Linked DNA regions of Homo sapiens: region 2 is linked to region 1. The links are contacts of gene promoters, found by promoter capture Hi-C in blood cells and fetal thymus (Javierre and others, 2016). All regions are on one chromosome and are shown on one strand. Each heading gives the region's core, a stretch centred on a gene start or on the middle of the fragment in contact. The rest is flanking DNA. Distances are from core to core; before and after follow the strand shown. Region 1 holds the start of S100A12 (S100 calcium binding protein A12). Region 2 overlaps CHTOP (chromatin target of PRMT1).

What was found. The method cuts DNA at HindIII sites, captures the fragments that hold promoters and counts their contacts. A CHiCAGO score of 5 or more calls a contact.
Region 2: a fragment that was not itself captured here is called in contact with the fragment with the promoter of S100A12 in region 1 in 2 of 17 cell types (neutrophils and monocytes); the score reaches 7.5 in neutrophils.

Annotation. Positions count from the first base shown.
Region 1 is chr1:153,374,090-153,378,679 of GRCh38, forward strand. It overlaps S100A12 (S100 calcium binding protein A12), which reads right to left and starts at 1,532. Exons shown (of 3, transcript NM_005621.2): 1 at 1,463-1,532; 2 at 366-523. The coding sequence starts at 503. The HindIII fragment of the contact is 5,829 bases long and covers 1-1,630 here.
Region 2 is chr1:153,636,376-153,640,965 of GRCh38, forward strand. It overlaps CHTOP (chromatin target of PRMT1), which reads left to right. Exons shown (of 6, transcript NM_015607.4): 2 at 197-278; 3 at 1,920-2,073. The coding sequence starts at 214. Among named protein-coding and RNA genes, the nearest start is that of CHTOP, 4.6 kb to the left of the region's middle. The HindIII fragment of the contact is 1,416 bases long and covers 1,918-3,333 here.

The DNA.
Region 1 (4,590 bases), core at 282-2,781:
CTGTGTTGGAGAATCCAGTGTAACAAAACAGAGAACACAATGGTCATGAACCACCCTGGAATTAACAAGGCTTGACCTGGAAGGTACTCTTCTGCTCACTCATTCAACCCCTCCCGTGCCCTGCCTCTCTCCATTTTACATATGAGGAAACAGACTCAGAGAGAGGAACTGAGTAGAGCCTTAAGTGAGTTATTGAGAGAGGGAAGCAAAGGACCTCTCCCACAGCAGCGGGGAGAGCATCCTTTGGGAGCTCAAACTGGGGCCAACCCCACCCCAGTCCTTGTCCCACCATCCTCTGCCAGGCCTTGCCACTCCCCTCAGTGCAGGGTCATGGGCAAGTTTGCAGTGAGAGGGGCATCACCTACCTTGATGGTGTTTGCAAGCTCCTTTGTAAGCAGCTGCTTCAGCTCACCCTTAGAGAGGGTGTCAAAATGCCCCTTCCGAACTGAGTATTGGTGGAAGATATTGACAATTCCCTCCAGATGCTCTTCAAGTTTTGTCATCTTCCCAGCCTAATGTTAACCTTCAAGGAAACAAGGGAAGTCTAGAGGCAGTTTCTCCCCCACCCCTCAACCTCCACTCTCCCCTCTCTTTCTGAATCAAGGGCCTAAAGAAAACATAACATCCTCCATATCTATTTTGTGGTCTCTGCTCTGTTTGATCCATGGTGAACTTCTCATGTGTGGATAGGATGGGGAGGAGAAAACATATAATACTGTCTAACGTCTAAAAAAATCAGCCTCAGTTGCCCATGTTCCATACCACCTCATCCACCGGGGTGCATAACTTGGAGGGTATTGCTTACTCAAGGTCCCTTGGGAAGGGTTCTGTGATTGGCCAGGCTGTTTGCTTTCCTCAGGTGATGGCACTATGGCCACATATCCCCCACAAATGGTCCATAACCCACCCCTGCTTAGCCATTCTTTTTTTGTTGTTGTTGTTTTGGGTTTTTTGTTTGTTTGTTTGTTTGTTTTTGAGACGGAGTCTCACTCTGCCGCCCAGGCTGGAGTGCAGTAGGGCGATCTCGGCTCACTGCAAGTTCTGCCTCCCGGGTTCACGCCATTCTCCTGCCCCAGCCTCCCGAGTAGCTGGGACTACAGGCACCCGCCACCACGCCCGGCTAATTTTTTGTATTTTTTTAGTAGAGACGGGGTTTCACCATGTTAGCCAGGATGGTCTCGATCTCCTCACCTCATGATCCGCCCGCCTCGGCCTCCCAAAGTGCTGGGATTACAGGCGTGAGCCACCGTACCCGGCCTGCTTAGCCATTCTTAAATCATGGGACTGAGTCTACATAGCACAACAAGAGCTGATCTACTTGGGTCCAAAATGCAATATCACCCCAGAGGTGCTCAGGCAAGTGGAGGGTTGTGGTTTCCAACACCTTGTGATTTCAAAGTGGTCACCTGCAGTCACTACCCTGTGGACCACCTAAGAACCCATCCAAGGAAAATGCACTTACCCCTCAATGCACAGGAATGTGGAGCTACAGCAAAAAGCCAGCAGTGGTGAAGGGCACTGAGCCAAGGAAGGTTTTATAATCAGTTCAGGCTTCATCTTAGCCCTTGGGTGAAGAAATCTCTGATTCATCTTGAGGCAATTTATGTAAAGTACTCTGTTGCTCAATAGAAGCTTCAAACCTGTGGCTTAGGCTGCCACAGGAGCAGCCCAGATTGTACCCAGACTGAATTTTGCCCTCCTGCTCAGCCTGAAACAAAATCACCCCCACTCCACCCACCCGCACAGGGGTGCCCTGAACCTTTTTTAGCCCTGAGCCAGGGCCCAGGTTTCAGGTTTAGCTCTACTCCACTGCTCCCTAATAAAAGACTAGGAGAACAAACTTTACAGCCTGAGTGTCTTGTTTTAACAGATGAGGTTACCAGCTCTTCAGTTTTGGCAAATGGAATATCAACTTAAAGATCTTTATGCAGCTAAGGAGATAGGTAGGGAGACCTCCTCCTAAGTCGTTCTGGGATGCAAAGTTCATCACTGGAGCAGAGGATCAGTTTTCAAAATAGATTCCAAGGTTTTCAAAAAAGGAGAGAGCAATGCTACTATGCCTCCCCTTTGCTTTCCCAACTTTCTAACTTGGCTGTTACAAAGACCTAGAAAGCTGGAGTAGGGTAATCATTGTGTGTGAAGAAAGTTCACCATGCCTAGGTTACTTTACCATGTTCATGAGTTCAGTAAGACAGAACATTCACACGAGTTTTAGTAAAGCAACTTTATTACTCACAGAGAGGCAGCAAGGGACAACAGATGCCCAGGATTCATGGAGAGGTGGTCCTTCAAGATTCAGAAACCTGCCCAAAATGGATTAAGTCTCATCTGTACATTCCCCATGTCGCACCAAAGCTAAGGGACATCCAAAAGCACTCTGCCCTTGGTTTATGCCTAGAGGTCAATAAGATTGCTGAGCAATCAAGGCCATGCCAGAACCTGTGCTGCCATCTACCCCACAACACAGATATCCCCCTTAGCAAAGCTAGTTCATTTCATGTGCCCACCGACCTCTCTGGATCTGGAGGCAAAAGTCTGTCTCTCCGATCCATGTGTCACCTTGACTGACACAATCTCAGTGCAACATTGTTAAGCCATTGACAGTATTTGTTTCACTAGGCCCAGGAGGACACCACCAGAGCAGGATGATCAGGCTTGTGTAAATCAATGACAATGACCAAGGTGAATCTCAATCATTTTAGGAGGTTTATTTGGCCAAAGTTAAGGATGCGTGCCCAGAGGTAGGTCTACGTCTTTCTCCAAAGATGATTTTGAGGGCTTCAATATTTGAAGGAGAAACAGTGGATATTGGGGGAAGAGGAAGAAATATTTTTTAAATGTGTCAGTAGATAAGAGACAAGTGATTGCATCCTTTTGAGTCTTTGATCAATCTTTCACTGAATACACAATTTTCATGTGGGAGCGGAGTAGAGGAAATAGTCACTTATGCCTTCATCTGGCTCAGTGAATCTGCATTTTTACATAAGATAACAAAAATAGGGGAGAGGAAGCAATCAGATATGGATTTGTCTTGGGTGAGCAGAGGGATGACTTTATGTTCTGCCCTTTGTCCCACACCTGTGAAGATAAGCTGTCAATTACACTGCCAGGGTGAAATTCAATAGAACTGTTTTAGGGTAAAGATCTTGAGGCTCACAAGGAATTTCCTTGTGGGCAAGTTGTGAGATTGGTGTATGGCTTTTTATCTTTGTAGCTATCTTATTTAGAAACCAACCTGGGTGGGGGCAGGCTTGCATGACCCATTTCCCAGCTTGACTTTTCCCTCTGGCTTAGTAAGTTTGGGATCCTGAGATGTTTTTTTTTTTTCACATCTGCCTGGAGAAGGGACTAGCCCAGGATCCCAGCCATCCAGGCAAGAGGTTGCTAAATGCGGATCACGAGGTCAGGAGATCGAGACCATCCTGGCTAAGATGGTGAAACCCCATCTCTACTAAAAATACAAAAAATTAGCCAGGCATGGTGGCAGGCACCTGTAGTCCCAGATACTCAGGAGGCTGAGGCAGGAGAATGGCGTGAACCCACAAGGCGGAGCTTGCAGTGAACCGAGATCGCGCCACTGCACTCCAGCCTGGGCAACAGAGTGAGACTCCCTCTCAAAAAAAAAAAATAGAAATCAAAAAAGCAGGAACACAGCCTCACATACAAATATTAACCTCCAATGTGAATGGCCTAAACACTGCACTTAAAACACATACCTTGGCAAATTCGATTTAAAAACAAGACCCATCCTTCTGCTGTCTTCAAGCACCTGTCTCATGTGTAATGACACCTGTAGATTCAAAGTAAAGGGATGGAGAAAGATCTATCATGCAAACAGAAAACAAAAAAGAGCAGAGGTTGCTATTCTTGAATCAGATCCGATAGACTGTAAGCCAACAACAGTAAAAAAGGATAAAGAAGGGCATTACATAGTGATAAAGGGTTCGATTTAACAAGAAAATTTAACCATCCTAAATAAATACACACCCAACACTGGAGCACCCAGATTTATAAAATAAGTACTTCTGCATCTAAGAAAAGATTTTGGCAGCCACACAATAATAGCAGGGGACAACACCCCACTGACATCAGTAGACAAATCATCAAGGCAGAAAACTAACAAAGAAATTATGGACTTAAATTTGACACTTGACCAATTAGACTTAATAGACATCTATAGAACAATGCACCCAACAACCACAGAATATATATTATTTTCATCTGCACATGGAACATACTCTAAGATCAACCACATGCTCAGTCATAAGGCAAATCTCAATAAATTCAAAAAAATCAAAATCATACCAAGAATCTTGGACCGCAGTGGAATAAAAATAGAAATCAATACCAAGAGGAACTCTCAAAACCACACAAATAAATGGAAACTAAACAACTTGTTCCTGACTTTTGGTTAAACAACAAAATTAAGGCAGAAATCAAAAAATTCTTTGAAACATACAAAAATAGAGACACAACACAACATATCAAAACATCTGGAATGTAGCAAAAGTAGTGTTAAGAGGGAATTTTTTTTTTCATCTTGGATGTGGGCGAATCTCATTTTAATTGCAAAAGACTTCATTCACAGCA
Region 2 (4,590 bases), core at 1,376-3,875, 260 kb after region 1:
TTCCAGCCTGAGTGACAGAGCGAGACCCTGTCTCAAAAAAAAAAAAAAAAGAAATTTAAGCACTTGAAATGTGCCCTCGTGTGCTCTTTAGTCATCAGTGATAAGGCCTTTTTATTTATTTTTGGCTTGGGCCTTGCCACTTATAGAAATGATGTCACTATTGTGATTTGCTCATTTTACGTATTGTTCTTTGTAGATTCTCGGGATTCGAAGATGGCTGCACAGTCAGCGCCGAAAGTTGTGCTAAAAAGCACCACCAAGATGTCTCTAAATGAGCGGTGAGGCAGCCAACAGCAACTTCAACTCCTTCCTAAGAAAACATTACTTAACTTGGCCCTGGGGTCCAATGCACAAAGCCAATTTTAAGCTAAATACCAACAGAAGGCTACAGACCTCTGTTCTTAGTTGCATCTCATGTGGTACACAAAACAAATTGGGCGGTTGTTTCAAAACCCCTTATCAGTAGACTTTTATGTTAAGCTGTCTGAAGTATTTATTTGGTGGGATGTATTTTAAAAGACTCCTAACACTCTTCCTTTTCACATTTTTTTACGTTGATACTGGGGTCGTGCAGCACGGTAGCATGGTACCCTGGCTACAGTAGGCTTGCTGCCCAGTCCAAGGCCAGCAGTGTTGTGTCTGGCCTGTAAGAGGCAGGTAGCAAGCCATGAATATGTCCAAAGGCCCTTGAATGTCATTCTTGGGCCTTGTAAGAGGCACTCGCTTTGCTCCATTTCACTTTCTTTCCATTCTGCTTTTAGTTTGGTTTTGTTTTGGATTCTTCTACAGTTAAGTGTTCTTCTCTTCCATTCCATTATACTTCCTTGACAGAAATAATGAGTCTCTTCACAGGCTCATAAATGATCAAACTGATGTAACTTTGAAAAGTAACTACTTGGAGTCAGAAAAAGTGATGATTGGAGACTAAGAAAAGTAAAGATATTCAAAGGCAGTTTCTATCTCTGACAACTTTGTTCATTAAGAGTGCCTTTGTTTAGGCGCGGTGGCTCATGCCTGTAATCCCAGCACTTTGGCAGGCTGAGGCGGGCGGATCACGAGGTCAGGAGTTTGAGATCAGCCTGCCCAACATGGTGAAACCCTGTCTCTACTAAAAATAGAAAAATTAGCTGGGCGTGGTGGCGTGTGCCTATAATCCCAGCTACTCAGGAGGCTGAGGTAGGAGAATCACTTGAACCCGTGAGGCGAAGGTTGCAGTGAGCCAAGATCCTGCCACTGCACTCCAGCCAGGGCAACAGAGGACAGAGTGAGGCTCCGTTTCAAAAAAAAGAATGCCTTTGATCAGTGATTTCATTAAGTTGACTTTCGACCACTGAAATTTACTTAATGTCTATTTTTGCCTCTTCTGAGGCATATGTGCTTCTCTCCTTATCTCTTTGGCTATGATAAGCTAATTATTTATGTTTGCATAATATTTATGTTTGCATGTTAGTGACATATATTTTAAAATGTGATACACTCCTGTAATTTATGAGAGTATGTTCATTGCTGTGAGCTTTGAAGGTGCTCTAATCCTTCCTCATATTTGGCCTTAGAATGCACCTCGGATCCCCCAAGGTTTAGGCTTTCTTCATTTGTCTTTGAAACTATATCTTCTGTCTCTTGTCATATCTGCTTATTGCGTGTTTTTCATACCTTCCACCTCTCTAAAAGCCGTTACCTGAGCCCTCGTTATCACTTTTGGTTGAATGTGCTGCACTTAGCTGCATTTCTAAGTTTCTGATTCTTGCAAGTTTGTGGAAACAGAGGAGTCTTTAACCCACATCAGCCTTGATCTAAGTGTACCACTTTACTTAAAAGTTCGTGGGATCTGGAGCTCCTGGTCTAGCAAGCCATGAAAATGCCAATAAATGTTTGTAATAAAGCTTTTATTTAAACATCCATTTTGTTCGACCTTGAAGCTTTACTAATATGCTGAAGAACAAACAGCCGACGCCAGTGAATATTCGGGCTTCGATGCAGCAACAACAGCAGCTAGCCAGTGCCAGAAACAGAAGACTGGCCCAGCAGATGGAGAATAGACCCTCTGTCCAGGCAGCATTAAAACTTAAGCAGGTGAGAGAATGGGTCTTAATGCTCCAGAAGCAGCTGGTGATCTCTGTGAGGGAGTCCACTGAGGCTGTCAGGACGTGATGGATGATTGCAAAGTGGCTCAGGGCAAAAAGCTGAAACTTCTCTGGAAGAAAGAGAAGTTCAGAGAATTCCAATTTTGGCAGGTACCAATAAGTAACTTTTTACTGTCTTTCTCTTTTAGGGAGTTTGCCATCTATGTGGCCTGTTTCTGTTACCAATGAGTATTAATCTTTTGTTTTCTGATCCTTAACCCTTAACATAGATTAATGGCTTATTCCACAAAGAAACTTTATTTCAGCTTTAGATAATCTCACAGCATCCTTTACTCTCTGTTAAATGATTTACCCAACAGGGAAATAATTTTATTCTTTTTCCCATAGTGCAGGGAGTTTGCATGGCCTTAGTCAAAGGTTTTCTTTTTTTTTTTTTTTTTAGACGGAGTCTTGCTCTGTCGCCCAGGCTGGAGTGCAGTGGCACGATCTCGGCTCACTGCAAGCTCCGCCTCCCGGGTCCATACCATTCTCCTGCCTCAGCCTCCCGAACAGCTGGGACTAAAGGTGCCCGCCACCACACCCAGCTAATTTTTTTGTATATTTAATAGAGACAGGGTTTCACCATACTAGCCAGGATGGTCTCGATCTCCTGACCTCGTGATCCACCCGCCTCGGCCTCCCAAAGTGCTGGGATTACAGGCTTGAGCCACCGCGCCCAGCAGTCAAAGGTTTTCAATGCTAAAATATACAGAGTAGAGTGACCCTCATTTCCACAGCACCTAAAGTTTTACCAGTAAAGTGGAGCAAGAATACTGAGTAATTTGAGTTAGGGGTTCTCTTTTTCAAATTTACAGTGAGAGATAATCCTATTCAGACCTGAAATAAAACCTGCTCTTTATTATTCATAGAATTTATATGCAAGTCCGGACAGTGGCTGTGGAAGGATATGTCCAAGCTGTGGCTGGGCGTCTGGAGGGCAGTGCCATGCAACTGTAAGGGCTTTGGTAGCATTGCATGGCTATGCATAAATTCAGCAGTTAAATATAACACCCTTACACCCCCACCCTGAACCATTGGGCTCACTGACCAAAAATAAACAAGGGTGTCTGCTTCGGCTACCTTAAGCCTTGGAGTGACTGGATTCCTCCCTGACTCAGGAAAGCAGCAAAAGGCACCATTTTCCAAGAGTAAATGGAAGTTGCTGAAGATGAATCTCTGACAGATCATTCCAAAGGACCTTTCAACAAGAAGCTTTAAGTATAGGCTCTGCAGGAAGTAGTCCCTATCCAGAGTAGTACTATTAAATAGAATTTTTTTATGTTTTTGGTTTGGTTTGGTTTGGTTTGTTTTGAGACGGAGTCTTGCTCTGTCACCCAGGCTGTAGTGCAGTGGTGCAATCTCAACTCACTGCAGCCTCCGCCTCCCGGGTTCAAGCGATTCTCCTGTCTCAGCTACAGGCGCCCGCCACCACACCCGGCTAATTTTTGTATTTTTAGTAGAGACGGAGTTTTGTCATGTTGGCCAGACTGGTCTTGAACTCCTGACCTCAAGTGATCTGCCTGCCTCAGTATCCCAAAGTGTTCAGATTACAGGCATGAGCTACCGTGCCCAGCCAGAACTTTCTACAATGATGGAAATGTTCTGTATTTGCTCTCCGGTACAGTAGCCACTAGTCACATGTGGCTATTGAAAACTTTAAATGTGACTAGTGCAATTAAGGAGCTTAATTTTTTTTAATTTAATTTTAGGCCAGGCCTGTAATCCCAGCACTCTGGGAGGCCAAGGCAGGCGGATCACTTGAGGTCAGGAGTTTGAGACTAGCCTGGCCAATGTGGCAAAACCCCATCTCTACTAAAAAAAAAAAAAAGCCGGGCATGGTGGCGCATACCTGTAATCCCAGCTACTCAAGAGGCTAAGGAGAATCTCTTGAACCCAGGAAGTGGAGGTTGCGGTGAGTGGAGTTGGCACCACTGCATTCCAGCTTGGGTGACAGTGAGACTCTGTCTCAAGAAAATAAGTAAAATTTGCTTTTAATTTAGGCTGGGTATGGTGGCTCACACTTGTAATCCCAGCACTTTGGGAGGCCTGGGCAGGTGGATCACCTGAGGTCAGGAGTTCAAGACCAGCCTGGCCAACATGACAAGACCCCGTCTCCACCAAAAATAAGCCAGGCGTGATGACAGCTCCTGTAATCCCAGCTACTCGGGAGGCTGAGGCAGGAGAATTGTTTGAACCTGGGAGACGAAGGTTGCAGTGAGCCAAGATCGTGTCACTGCACTTCAGCCTGGGCAACAGAGCGAGACTGTATCTCAAAATAAAAATAATTGAAATAGCCACATGTAGCTATAGAGGCTGCCTTACACAGCACACCTCTAGAAGGGAAACTAAGTGGTATAGTTGACATCCTTAACTTCCCTGTTAATATTAAAGGCCGGTATTGGTGGCACTTAAGGATTGGAATGGGTAAAGAACTTCCCAGCACTGTACAGTTCTTTTAAAGCACAAA